Regions from separate parts of the Homo sapiens genome. Here all the other regions are linked to region 1. The links are contacts of gene promoters, found by promoter capture Hi-C in blood cells and fetal thymus (Javierre and others, 2016). All regions are on one chromosome and are shown on one strand. Each heading gives the region's core, a stretch centred on a gene start or on the middle of the fragment in contact. The rest is flanking DNA. Distances are from core to core; before and after follow the strand shown. Region 1 holds the start of KEL (Kell metallo-endopeptidase (Kell blood group)). Region 2 overlaps CLCN1 (chloride voltage-gated channel 1). Region 3 holds the start of GSTK1 (glutathione S-transferase kappa 1). Region 4 has its middle 110 kb from the start of PRSS1. Region 5 overlaps CLCN1 (chloride voltage-gated channel 1).

Region 1 (2,700 bases), core at 6-2,505:
TGGGGAAAAGCTCAGAGCTGGGAAAGAAGAGGCAAAAAGACAAGGGCTCCCCCAAGGGGCTAGGCAAAGAACATCAGGTGAGTAACTAAGTGGGGAGCTGATGAAAAAGAAATGGTTAGGATGCAGGGAGGAAGAAGAACCATGGGGACCCCAAGGGTCAGGGTGGGCAGAAGCCCCAGGAGCAGGGACTGGGCCTGGGCCCCAGGGCTGGGGGAGGGCTGACTAGGTTAGGGGGTCTGGGATCTTGCTTACGAGGGCCACAGTTCTGGAAGTTGTAGAACAAAAGCACAGAAAAACAAAGGAGCAGGCCCAAAATCAGGATAGCTGTCAGCACCCGCCTGGCCACTGCCCATGGCCTGCTCCCTTCCACGGGCAGCCTCTCTTCTGGAGTGCTCTGTGGGAGGAACCAAGAGGTGAAAGATACAAGATGGGGGTTGAGAGACAGGGATGGGAAGAAGAGGAGAGAGAATGAATCTGTTGGTGCTACAGTCCCTTTATACAGAAATAATTATCCCAATTCTTCCTAAACCCAGCCCTACTTTAACTCCTGGGAGATGAGAAAACAAGGAATGTCAACTGTTTTGGGTGAGGATGAAGCAGACAGTTAGTAGATGAGTGTTTGTGGGATTTTAGAGCCGAGAGTGACAACATCAGTGTATTCCAGACCCAGGAGAGGAGGCCACTTACCTCTTGGCTCCAGAGAGTTCCCATTCCACCTGCCTGGCTGCGTTCCCTCGGCTCTTCCTCACTTTGGTCCCCACCTTCCTGAAGTGAGTGGAGGGAGAAGGAGGAGAGAGAAGCTGGTTCAGGAAATGGTGCATTGAAGAGAGTTTTATCAGGCCATTTTGATACCCTCGCTGCCTGCCCTGCCCCCACACACATATTTTTATCTCGGAGCAGTGTTCCCAGATGGGCTTCAGAACGAACCTGTCCCCTGAATGTGCCATTTCTCGATCCCTCTCCCATTACCTCCCTCTCTCCCCACCTTTCTACTCTGTAAGCCTTACATTCCCTCCCCTCCAGTGGGGGCAGGACTTTTGCACACAGCCACCCTCACCCCTCCCCGCTAAGCCTCTGACTCCAAAAGGGGACTTACCATCTGTCTATCTTCTGTGGCTCCAGAATCCTTCCTGGTTCCACTCTAGGAGCTGATTCGGAGGACTGGGGTCCAGGAAACACCCCCCGCCCCAGTTCCTTGATCCTGGAGAAGGGGCACTTCTGCTGCTCTTTCGCCTTGTCCCCAGACACACAGGACTGGCCTCTGGGTGGAGCCTGCTTATCAGTGGGGGGCACCCAGGCTTCTCCTCCCCCTTTATCTCAGCTTCTCAGGGGAGAAGAGGGAGGGAGTCTTCACTCCCCAAGCAATCTTGCCCTTGGTCTGCTCCTTTTGTCTTGCACTGTGACTCTGCCCATGAAGTTCCTTTATTTCTAAAATATTCTTCCTTCTCTCATTTCTTCTGTATTAAAAAAAATATGAGGCACAGTAAAATTTTAAAGAGTTTATTTAAGTAAGAAGCAATTCATGAATTGGGGAGCACCAGACCGACAAAGGTTTAGTGTTGCGATGACAAAATGTCAGAGGCAAGCATTTATTGGGAAGTTATAGAAGCAAAATGAAACATTATTTGCTTAGTTTGCAGTTACATAATTGCATTTTTTAGGTAACTTTTTGGAAAGTCCCTAGTCACATAATCATATGTTAGTTGGCTGCTTATCATTGGCTGGGGTTAAGTTTTATTTGTTGTAAGCATTTATCAGAAATTGACCCAAGTTAAGTTTAATTTATGTTTGTAGTTTTAGCAAGAATATGGCTATTTTTAAGGTCTTTGGCTTTGTTTGCCTGGGAATTTTTCAGGCCCAGTCTCCATTTTAATTTTGTTTTCACACCTCTCTGATTGGCTTTTCTGGGATTCATCAATTCCCAGGTCAAATGCCACCTTTCCCAGGAGGCCTCCCAGCTCCATGCCCATTCACACTGTTCCCAAGCATGCTTAATTGTTTCTCTCGGTGTTTCATAGCTCTGCTGGCTGCTGGCAAAGTCATGCATTCAAAAGATCACCCAGCTAGGAGACCCTAATCTGCTAATTATTAGCTCTGTGACAATAAACAAGCCACTTAAACTCTGAGGCAGGTAAGCAAGTTTTGTCATCTGGAAAATGAGGGTAATACTTGCCTATGCCTACCTCATAGGATCTCATGCCTTCTACAAAAGAATAAGGCTTTACTGAGCCCCTCTTTCTTTCATTCTGCTTTCTGTTACACTGATAGCTTGCCTCTTCATCTCCTTAGTGATTGAAAACTATGTCATAGCATGTACAGTGTCTGGTTTTCATTCCTGCCCACCCAAGATGCTTTCTAAATGTTAATAGAAATGAATTGCATTCCAAGCCAGAAATCCTCTTTCTCACATCATATTAAGCCCTTACCTGTGGTCTGAGAGAGGCAAGCACATTTCTGGGGGAAGGTGTTTCAACTCTGTCCTTGTTTCCTCATCCCAGGAAAAAAATAATGTAATTTATTAGGTTAGTCTTGCAAATGATCCCCTGGCGATATTTCCAGATTCCATCAGCACTGTGCTAGGGCCATGGTGCACTTGCCAGGATGAGGGTGGGTGTGGAGAAGTGGAGTAAAGCCATTGTGCCCCCTGGGGCCAGCTGGTCGGGTATCATGAAAGTCATAAAGAAAAGTCAGAACTTCATA
Region 2 (2,700 bases), core at 169-2,668, 360 kb after region 1:
CCTCCCTCTCTTCCACCTGTTTCTCTGTCTGTCTCTCCCCTAGTAGCAGCCATACTACTACTCTGATATCCTGACGGTGGGCTGTGCTGTGGGAGTCGGCTGTTGTTTTGGGACACCACTTGGAGGCAAGTGATTGACCCCCTCCCCCATCAATCGGCTTGCCTGGCCTGGCTCCCAAAACAGTTTTAATCAGTATCCACAAGTGCTGGTATTACCAGGTTACTTACGAGAATAGCTGACTTTTAGTAAGCCTTTGCTATGTGCCAGGCAATGTTTAAAGCACTTACTTTTATTCCTGGCCAAAGCCATATGAGACAGATATTACAGAGGAGGAAGAGGAGAGAACTGAGTTACAGAGAGGGACAGTGACTTGAGCAAGTTCATTCTGTTAGTAAGGTACAAGCCAGGAATTAAAACCAAGGCAGTCTCCGTGGCTCCCCTACTTATTTTCAAACCTGTTTGTATTGTTGGATGTTTTTGCCCTACACCGATGACATCTCTAACAGGGGACTCTATGAACTTCCTCCTTCAAGGGAAAAATCCACATTTTGTTGTGCTTTATTAATTGCATGGGAATTCAGGTAGACCTTATTTAGATTAATGGTAAGCTTTTAGTGTGGAATAGTTAGGAGAGTTTCAAAGGATAAATGTCCCTTGATAGCAATTTAAAGTTAAGTTTAGCTCTTTCTCCAAGTATAAGGCAAATAGCGATCTCTCAGATTATTTTCCTTATCATGGATGATTAACAAATGGATGTAGTCGGAGAAAGCAGTCGTATCTGTTTATTGACTCATCAAAATCAATTATAGCTAGATTAGCAGGGCAGGATTATATAGATCATTCACTGGATTCATTGATGATAAAAAGGACACCAAGTTGATATGTGAAGAAACAAAATTGCAGGAAGGGCATATGCTTCTTAAATGACCCACTGTTAGAGGTTTCTTTTCAGTTATGGAAATGTTAAGCAATCTTTTCATAGAATCTTCCAGGGAACTAAAATGACTTGGTGCAGGAATGATAAGTGGAGAAGAGTTTAAAGTTAATGCAAATGCATGATCTAACTTATGCAAACACTGTGGCAAAGCACACAGACTAAGGAACCCAAGTTAGCAAGCACATCAGCTAGCATCCTGTTTACATTTCTGTCCTCAGCTCTACTCATTAAAATCACTAATCCTTGTCAGTGGAGGATAGTGTATTTGGATTTTTGCACATGTTAAACGTTCACACTTACATTTATACCCACTTTTGCCTTTATTTACTCGTTAGCCTTTCAAATCCAGGAGGTTTAAATAATATTTTTAGACTGGGAGACTTCTGTTGTTTTGTTTTAATCAGCCAGATTCTCTTAACATGAAGAGAATTTGCATTTTCCTCGTAAAATTGGAATTTCTGAGAAGAATCAGAAAAGTTCTTCTTGGTCCTGTGTCAAGTATGGGAGAGGTAAAGATCACAGAGAAGTTACAGGCAACAGTTCTGAAACCACTGTGGTAGAAAAAGGAAGAAAAAATTCACAGATAAAACATTGCTGTTGACACAAGAAATTGTTAAGTACTTAAAAATTAAGGTGCCATGTTTACGCTGTTTGTATTATGTGGTAAATGACAAAGGTATTTGCAGGTGGCATTACTTGTTTTTTTTGTTTGTTTGTTTGTTTGTTTGTTTAGATGGAGTCTTGCTCTGTCACCCAGGCTGGAGTGCAGTGGCACCATCTTGGCTCACTGCAACCTCTGTCTCCTGGGTTCAAGCAATTCTCATGCCTCAGTCTCCCAAGTAGCTGGGATTACAGGCCTGCGCCATCACGCCTGGCTAATTTTTTGTATTTTTAGTAGAGACAGGGTTTAACCATGTTGGCCAGGCTGCTCTCAACCTCCTGACCTCAAGTGATCCGCCCACCTTGGCCTATTACTTGATTTTTAAAAAAGAATACCGAATAATTCTGAAAGGAAAATTAGTATCAAAATGAGGTATTCATTATGGAGTCAGCTCTTAATTTCTTACACTAATGAAATAAATGGAATTCAGCATTCTACTGAAATGACAAGCATCTTGCTCCCATTCTGTACCAGGCCCTGTGTTGGATCTTGCACACTCAGGGTGCTCCTAGTTGAGAGGCTGGACAGGCAGGCAAACCTATTGTCATAGCTCACTCGAAAAAGTGGCCCAATGGCAGCTGGGGTAAAGTGCAGTGGGGACCTTATGCTAACCTGCCTACAAGAGCCCATGAAGCTTCACAAAAGAGGTGGTGTTTGACATGAGGCTTGAATAATAAGTAGGACTGGCAAGGAGGATGGTGGGCAAGGTATTCTGGACAGAGGAAACAGCATTGCAAAGTCAAGATGGGGGCAGTAGCTGAGTATTACCAGGGGATACAGAGGAAGGAATAATAGCAAATGAGGCTGGACAAGTAAAGGGGGGCTGAATTATGAAGACTCTCATGGCTATGTATAAGAATATGGAATTTATTCTCTAGACTAGGATTTGCACGAATGTGTTTCATGGTTTACTAGATCTAATGTGTAAAAATGGTTCTATAAACCAGTTGGAAAATGCTTGGTTAAAGAGAGTTTTTTTTAAACTAAAAAAGTTATCAGTGGCCAGGCACAGTGGCTCATGCCCATAATCCCAGCACTTTGGGAGGCCAAGGCAGGCGGATCATGAGGTCAGGAGTTCAAGAACAGCCTGGCCAATATGGTG
Region 3 (2,700 bases), core at 146-2,645, 300 kb after region 1:
TCATAAGGCAGGTGTTATCATTAGATATTCCCCATGTGTATGCAGGATGAGGAAATAGGTTCAGAGAGGTCAAGTGGCTCACCCAAGGGGCACAGCTAAGTGAAAGGCACTGCAGGCATCTCAAACTACCCCCTTCCCACAAGACTCCACTGCAGAGCAGGACAGTCACCCTGACACCAGCCCAATGGGTTCATCTTGCCCATTACCCAGATGGGGCTAATTTATCAAGACAAGGGAATTGCAATAGAGAAAGAGTTTAATACACATAGAGCCAGCTAAACAGGAGACCAGAGTTTTATTATTACTCAAATTAGCCTCCCAAAATTCGGAGGCAGAGGCTAGGGGACTTTGTGGGTTTTTTTGTTTTTGTTTTTGTTTTTCTTTTGAGAGGGAGTCTTGCTATGTCACCCAGGCTGGAGTGCAGTGGCATGATCTCGGCTCACTGCAACCTCTGCCTCCCGGATTCAAGCAATTCTCCTGACTCAGCCCCCCGAGTAACTGGGATTACAGGCACATGCCACCATGCCCGGCTAATTTTTGCATTTTTAGTAGAGACAGGGTTTCACCATGTGGGCCAGAGTGGTCTTGAACTCCTGACCTCAAGTGATCCACCCACCTCAGCCTCCCAAAGTGCTGGGATTACAGGCGTGAGCCACCATGCCCGCCGGCTAGAGTTTTTTAATGATAGTTTGATGGGCAAGGGGCTAGAGAATGGGTGCTGCTAATTGGTTGGGGATGCAATCACAGGGGTGTGGAAAACCGTCCTCAGTGCACCGAGTTGCATTTGGATGCGGGCCACAGAGGAGTCACTGGTCCAGGTGGAGTCATCCTGTCATTAGAAATGGAAAAGTCTGAGAAGGTATCTTCAAAGGCCAGTCTTAGGTTCTACAAAAGTGGTTATTTACAGGAATAATTGGGGAAGTTGCAGAGCTTGTGACCTCTGGAACAATGTCTGGTAATTGTTAATGCCTACATCTTAGCAGAATTCAGGCCCCTCTCATAATCCTAAACTTGTGGACTTTTATTAGTTTTATAAAACTGGTTTAGTTTGGGGAAGGGCTATTATCATTTAAACTATAAACTAAATTTCTCCCTATATTAGCTCGTCCCATGCTCAGGAATGACCAAGGGCAGTTTGGAGGTTAAAGGCACGATGGAGTTGGTGAGTTCAGATCTGTTTCACCTTCGTAATTTTCTCACTGTTAAAATTTTTGCAAAGGCGATTGCAGCGCCCCTTGTCCACACCTGCGCGCTCCCCAAGGGGTCCCTACCCACCCCGCCCCTGGCTGGGGGCCGTAGGCTGGCCCTGCCCCGCTGCGCCGGAGGTGGACCTCTACCAGGGCAGTTTCTCTCTGAGGCTGCGCGCTAAGGCGGTGGGCGGTCCCAGGCAGGCCCAGAAGCTGGGCAGCCTCTGCCGGGTTCCGGGAAAAGGAGCTCCTGCTGCCACTGCTCTTCCGGAGCCTGCAGCATGGGGCCCCTGCCGCGCACCGTGGAGCTCTTCTATGACGTGCTGTCCCCCTACTCCTGGCTGGGCTTCGAGGTGACGCTGGGAGGGGTCGCCTCGGCAGTGTCTGGGGAGTGAGGGCGGAGGGAAGAGTGAGCGCAGGGCTCCGGGACAGAGGTCTCGTGTAACTCCTGGCGCCGCCCAAGGGGTTAAGGCAAGCAGGGAGAGCTCCGGGGCTGAAGGTCACTTTGTGCTTTTAAACGGAATAGAGTCGCTGGCTCCAACCCGAGCCTTTATATCCCGACTGCAGTTTCCCACGGTGGTGGAAAGAGGGGCGGCTCCAAACATTCAGGGAGAAATGCAGAACACGGCCACCTCTTAGCCCAACGATGGCAGTTTTGGGGAAAACTGGCCACAGGAGCGAAGATCCTGGAATAGATTTCTAGTAGTGAGGAGAGTTTTGCCAATTTCAAACCAAACAATGTAGGGTGTCCGCATAACCCCTGCTCTGCACTTAGCGCCTCCCTTCCCTTTCCCTCGGCTCTTTCACTTTTCCATCTTGCACACTGGCAATCGTTCTTGACCTCTGCCCGCAGATCCTGTGCCGGTATCAGAATATCTGGAACATCAACCTGCAGTTGCGGCCCAGCCTCATAACAGGGATCATGAAAGACAGTGGTAGGAAGGGAGGGTCGGGGCAGGGGTGATCTCAGTGGCCCAAGAGAGCCGACCCCAGCGGGTCCTTATATTGGCACTGGCAGCCAGAAAGCTGCCCTCTGCCCCGTCTCTACTAAAAATACAAAATTAGCCGGGCGTGGTAGTGCATGCCTGTATACCACAGCTACTCGGGAGGCTGAGGCGGGAGAATCGCTTGAACCCAGGAGGCGGAGGTTGCGGTGAGCTGAGATCGCACCATTGCACTCCAGCCTGGGCAACAAGAGCGAAACAACAAGAGAAAAAAAAGGAAGCTGCCCTCTGCCCAAAACCCACGTCGAGGTCCCCAAACCTGGGACCCTTAGGTCTTTTCTCACTTAGCGTGCCCAACCTTCTCCTGGCAGGAAACAAGCCTCCAGGTCTGCTTCCCCGCAAAGGACTATACATGGCAAATGACTTAAAGCTCCTGAGACACCATCTCCAGATTCCCATCCACTTCCCCAAGGATTTCTTGTCTGTGATGCTTGAAAAAGGTGAAGAGAGTGGGATGTAGACAGGGTATCCAGTGAAAAACACAGAAGTCGGAGATTGAGGGATTGATA
Region 4 (2,700 bases), core at 170-2,669, 320 kb before region 1:
TGAAAGTCCTTTGTAGGCTGTTGCTCAAAAGAGAGAGCTGAAGCTTCATTGTCATCAGCAGACAAGCAAACAATACAATTTTTCAATATATATATATATTTTCCTCATGTAACTTTGAAATGATACTATTTTTCAATTTTCCTCATATAACTTTGATCCTTAACAAAGGGCACAGTTTCAAACAATATGAAATCATGTTAGCAGTAGCAGTTCCCATTTGGGATAATAGGGTTCAACTGTCTATGGAACAATGAGATAAAAACTAGAAGCAGGCAACTGCATAGACAAGATGTGAAATTGAGATGCCATAAGGCTGGACTAGAGGTTGAGACTCTGCAGATTTCAGCATGTAAATAATTGAACTATGGGGACAGAAAATTCCAACCAAATATAGATTTAGATCACAGAGATAAAAGGCATGGAAGTTAAGACTGTGGTATTCTGGTTCCTTATGGAGATTAAAGAAGCCTAAGAGTGAGGAGTGATTAGAACATGGGATGTAAAAACAAAAGAGGGAAAGAGAGAGAGTGAGAGTTTTGTTTTGTCTAGTATTTGATATTTCTAAGAAAATTCGGGAAAAAAATAAAGGTAACCCAGGCAGAAGAAGCCGCAAACACTTCTTGGGTAACAGGGAATAGTTGGTAAAATGTCATATGTTAGTTTACTGAGGTGCACAGAACCTTTTCCACTGAGGTTCCTTTTGGAAAGACACAAGACTTAGCTAAGATTCCAAGAAATCACCAAAGTAGGAAATGAAAAGCCTCCATGAATGAAGTTGCATGAGTCTCCTACCAGTGGATAAAGGATAGGATAGGATAAAAGAATAGCTGCAAAGGATAAAAGAATAGCTGAGGCACTGAAATAGAAGCTCCAAGTGAGAGGACTAAATCTAACAAACATGAAGAATTATTATAAAACCACAACAATAAAAGTGGTGTAATATAAGGGCATTGATATATAAATAGATCCAAGGAAAAAAATACATGTTCATAAACACAGAGCAATGGTACTGCAACAATCAAAGAATATATTTTTCAATAAATGGTGATAGGAAAATTGGGTATCTATATAAAGAAAAATAAGTGCAATTGGACACATCTCAATATATAGCCAAAATCAATCCCAGCTATATTAAAAGCATAATTGTAATAAAATCACAAGGCTTCTAGAATACTGTATAAGAGCACATCTTCATGGCCTTAAAGCAGGGAAAGAGTTCTTATTCCCTCAATCAGTAGGGAACAGATTGATAAAAATGGCTATATCAAAATTAACATATTGAATTTATCAATGTTAATTATGTAACAGTGACAAGATTGACTGTATAGTGACATATCATTAAATATCTATATATTTATACCAAATTAATATCCCTATTTATATTTATATATTCAAGAAAAGCTAGTATATAAATTTTTTAAAAACCTACAAACTAATTTTTCTACAGATCAATGAGAAAAAGGTAACTGTCAATGGAAAAAGTGAGTGAAAACCATAAGCACCTAGCAAAATCTCACTGGTCATTAAACATGTAAATGTGGCTATATTTAATAATCAGGGAAATAGAAATTGAGTCCAACGAAATATATACCCACAAGAATGGCTACGATGATAAAAATAGTAACTATCAAGTGTTGGCAAGGCAAAGTGTCAACAAGAACTCTCTGAATCACTGGCTAGAGTGTATATCGGTAGATCCAGTTTGGAAAACAATTTGGTATTATCTAGTAAAGTTCAAGATGTGTGTACCCACTATCCATCAATTCCACCCTTGAGAAAGGCTTTTCTAGAGAAACCCTTCTACGAAAATCAGGACAAGAATATTCACTGTAATACATCTGTCATGGCAAAAACGTATAAAATATCCAAATGTAACTTAAGAGAAGAATAAATCCTGGTTATTAAAAAGAAATTACACAGCAGTGAAAATTCATGAACTAAAACTAAACACACAAACATGAATGAATTTCACAAATTTGAATGAAAAATTACATTGCAGAAGAAAGGTACAGTATTGTCTCGTTTGTGTAAAGTTTGAAAGCATCTAAAACTAAACACTATTTTGTTTGCTTATGTGCCTATGCATTAAAATATAAAAGAGAAGCAAATAATTACAAAAACAAACACCTCAATAGAGTTAGAGAACAGAGGCATGGAATCTGGGAAAAGAAATAAGAGCTTTCAAATATTCTGGTAATCTTTTATTTCCTGTGCCAAGTTGTTTTTTTAAGTGATCATTCTGTTGGTATTTTATCAAGTTATTATCTATATATTCAAAGTCCATTTTGTAATGTGGAGAAAACAACCTCACTGAACAATTAAATTAGTAAGGAGAAATCTATGGAAAGATATACATTAAGCTGTTAACATTACTTACCTGAAATGAGGATGAGATGGAGGAAGAGAAAAGTAAGCGAAAAAAAAAATCATCAAAAAATGCACAATTTAAAATAAATAGTTACAGAGAGAAAAAGCAAAAAAGGGAGGTTATGTAAAAGAAGCACTAGTAAATGAACAAGCTAAAATACACCAGAAAGAGCTAGAAGGTGAAGTATTTTTCAAAGCAGTCACTAGTTTCAGAATCATAAAGATAGCAATTACAACAGAGATCTGAAATATATAAAAGATAATTAGATAACTAATAGCCAGAAGGAATGTCCAGTCTTGAGTTAGAAACTGATGCTCAAATTAATGGCAAAG
Region 5 (2,700 bases), core at 201-2,700, 380 kb after region 1:
CTCTCTTTCTCTCTCCCTCCCTCTTTCCCTCTCTCTTTCTCTCTCTCTCTTTTCTTTTCTTTTCTCTTCTTTCTTTTCGACAGAGCCTCACTCTGTTGCCCAGGCAGGAGTGCAATGGCGCCATCTTGGCTCACTGCAACCTCTGTCTCCTGGGTTCTAAGTGATTCTCCTGCCTTAGGCTCCTGAGTAGCTGGGATTACAGGAATGCACCACCATGCCCAGCTAATTTTGTATTTTTAGTAGAGACGGGGTTTCACCATGTTGGCCAGGCTGGTCTCGAACTCCTGACCTCAGGCGATCCACCAGCCTTGGCCTCCCAAAGTGCTGGGATTACAGGCATGAGCCACTGTGCCCGGCTGGAACTGTTTCACATGGAGGAGTGAATGGTTGTTAGTAAACGATAATTTCACATTTCTCTGCCTTCACCATCATTTGACACTTCATCCTGCTTTGTATGATTTCTTATTGTGGTTTATATATCTATATCTTGTCTTCCTAACTAGGTGGGCATTCCTTGAGAATAGAGGCTATGAATTCTATATACCCAGAGTGCCTTGTTATAGGTATCTACTAGATATTAAATGAATAATTTCCTAGTGTTTGAATTAGTGTAATAAAGAAAAATCATGTAGGGCCATTTGGAGTCATTAAGATTGTTAGTTCTGATTTCCAATAATCAGAATATCCAAATTTCTCAAATTAAATTAATTCAAATATTTTCCCAAATCTCATATACATTCCACGTTCTACAGCAGAGGCTCTTTATTAGAGGAGGGGTACAGCCAACAAATGAGGGGCAAGGTTTTCATAATAATGACTGAGACCTAACAGTAAAATTCATCTCCAGAGCACTGCTGCAATGTCTTGGCCTTAAAACTTAATAAAAATGTTAACTATAGTAGCAAAATTTCTATAATCATATAAAAGACCTTCTCAGGAAAAGTAGGCATTTTGATTTATCCTAGCAGGGTTTTTTTTTTTTTTTTTTAATGAAATCTCGCTCTTGTCGCCCAGGTTGGAGTGCAGTGGTGCGATCTCAGCTCACTGCAACCTCTGCCTCCCGGGTTCAAGCGATTCTCCTGCCTCAGCCTCCCAAGTAGCTGGGATTACAGGCGCCTGCCACCACGCCCAGCTAATTTTTTTATTTTTGGTAGAGACGGGGTTTCACCATGTTGGCCAAGGCTGGTCTCGAACTCCTGACCTCAGGCGACCCGCCTGCCTCGGCCTTCCAAAGTAGTGGGATTACAGGCGTGAGCCACCGCCTGGCCCAGGTTTTTTAAATGATGAAATGTCAGATACAAAAGAAAGAGTTCCCTTGTTTCCCTTTTTCCAGGGAGAGATATAATGTTTGTATTGCTTATAGACTTCTTTCAAAGCGTGTTCACGTCTCAGCTTATTTGAATGGCTTCTCATGTTTCTTTTTATTTGGACAGCATTGATTAGCCTCCTTAATTATCAGCTCACCTATCTGAAGTCTATATAAGGCCTCATCAAAATAAGTACAAATTAGCCCAATTAGTGCTCTACCAATTGGCCCCGTACCTGCTAAATGGATGAAATAAAAGGGATTGAGTGAGGTTAATCTTGGAGGATTCTTAAAATGAGTTTCCAGGAAGCTGAGAAAGATGTGGGGACGCCGGGCAGGGTGGCGCCTCTCCTGTTCCTTCTCAGGAGTGCGGAGCGCGGTGGTGCGAGAGGGCTTGGAGGGGGCGCTCAGGCAGGGCGTGGGTTTCCCTCAGATTCAATGATCCTGCTGGGCTCGGTGGAGCGGTCGGAACTGCAGGCCCTCCTGCAGCGCCACCTGTGTCCTGAGCGCAGGCTGCGCGCAGCCCAAGAGATGGCGCGGAAGTTGTCGGAGCTGCCTTACGACGGGAAGGCGCGGCTGGCTGGGGAGGGGCTCCCCGGCGCGCCTCCAGGCCGGCCCGAGTCCTTCGCCTTTGTGGATGAGGATGAGGACGAAGACCTCTCTGGCAAGAGCGAGGTGACCGCGCCGGGAAGGGCTAGGGAGTGGGATAGATCAGGAGCAAAGGGAAAAGCGTCGTCTGGGCTGGGCTGGGCTGGGCTGGGACAGGCGTAGTTTCCCTGAAAGTAGTGGGAAGAGGGAGGGGAGAGTCTGGTAACTGAGAAAGCCAGAAATTCTGGATCAGGTACCATAGAGACCAGTGCCTCTGGGTCCAGGGACTAAAGAAGATAAGGTTGCAGATGATGGTATCCTCGACAATTCAAAGGGATATAGGAATTTCTGAACTGGGGGGAAGAATAGAGTTCGCTTTCCCAGAACATCCACCAACTGGTAAAGGCAGTGAAGGCCCAGGCAGTCTCTGCTCCCAGGCTGAGACTTCTTACTCTTCCTTACAGCTTCCTCCTTCCCTTGCTCTCCACCCCTCTACTACTGCCCCTCTGTCCCCAGAAGAGCCCAATGGGCCTCTGCCTGGCCACAAACAGCAGCCGGAAGCACCAGAGCCTGCAGGTGACGCTCTTCCCTCATGCACCCCAACTCACCCCTTGTGGGTTCTCTCTGGTCACTAGGACCTGACCTTGACCTGCATGCAATTCCTATGCGGGGTGGGGTGGGGGGTGAGGCTGGGGGATTGAGGGAGGACAGGGTTCTTATTCATCAATTCTCCTTGTTACTGTCCCAGGGAGTGGGAGCAGAGGGTGATTTAGGAGGGTAGAAGAGAGGGTGAGGTACCTGGGAAG

Evidence for each region. Contacts are between HindIII fragments. The CHiCAGO score rates a contact against its expected background, and 5 or more counts as called.
Region 2: a fragment that was not itself captured here is called in contact with the fragment with the promoter of KEL in region 1 in 1 of 17 cell types (neutrophils); the score reaches 5.4 in neutrophils.
Region 3: the fragment with the promoter of GSTK1 here is called in contact with the fragment with the promoter of KEL in region 1 in 3 of 17 cell types (neutrophils, erythroblasts and M0 macrophages); the score reaches 11.7 in neutrophils.
Region 4: a contact is called between a fragment that was not itself captured here and the fragment with the promoter of KEL in region 1, in 1 of 17 cell types (M2 macrophages). The highest score is 5.6, in M2 macrophages.
Region 5: a fragment that was not itself captured here is called in contact with the fragment with the promoter of KEL in region 1 in 1 of 17 cell types (neutrophils); the score reaches 5.8 in neutrophils.

What each region holds. Positions count from the first base shown.
Region 1 is chr7:142,961,108-142,963,807 of GRCh38, forward strand. KEL (Kell metallo-endopeptidase (Kell blood group)) reads right to left here and starts at 1,256. Exons shown (of 19, transcript NM_000420.3): 1 at 1,097-1,256; 2 at 688-765; 3 at 253-394. The coding sequence starts at 1,099. RefSeq lists a silencer at 1,020-1,215. The HindIII fragment of the contact is 12,002 bases long and covers 1-2,700 here.
Region 2 is chr7:143,324,368-143,327,067 of GRCh38, forward strand. CLCN1 (chloride voltage-gated channel 1) reads left to right here. Exons shown (of 23, transcript NM_000083.3): 7 at 47-125. Among named protein-coding and RNA genes, the nearest start is that of CLCN1, 9.6 kb to the left of the region's middle. The HindIII fragment of the contact is 1,624 bases long and covers 607-2,230 here.
Region 3 is chr7:143,262,046-143,264,745 of GRCh38, forward strand. It overlaps GSTK1 (glutathione S-transferase kappa 1), which reads left to right and starts at 1,396. Exons shown (of 8, transcript NM_015917.3): 1 at 1,396-1,540; 2 at 2,041-2,122; 3 at 2,503-2,631. The coding sequence starts at 1,469. All of the region lies in intron 2 of TMEM139-AS1 (TMEM139 antisense RNA 1), which reads right to left. It overlaps LOC105375546 (a long non-coding RNA gene), which reads left to right. Exons shown (of 3, transcript XR_007060569.1): 3 at 1,103-1,162. RefSeq lists a silencer at 1,214-1,283 and enhancers at 1,311-1,605, 1,424-1,643. The HindIII fragment of the contact is 19,965 bases long and covers 1-2,700 here.
Region 4 is chr7:142,642,742-142,645,441 of GRCh38, forward strand. It overlaps TRB. Among named protein-coding and RNA genes, the nearest start is that of PRSS1, 110 kb to the right of the region's middle. The HindIII fragment of the contact is 2,756 bases long and covers 42-2,700 here.
Region 5 is chr7:143,343,782-143,346,481 of GRCh38, forward strand. It overlaps CLCN1 (chloride voltage-gated channel 1), which reads left to right. Exons shown (of 23, transcript NM_000083.3): 17 at 1,740-1,981; 18 at 2,359-2,470. Among named protein-coding and RNA genes, the nearest start is that of FAM131B-AS1, 17 kb to the right of the region's middle. RefSeq lists silencers at 1,635-1,929, 1,736-1,815. The HindIII fragment of the contact is 4,049 bases long and covers 1-2,700 here.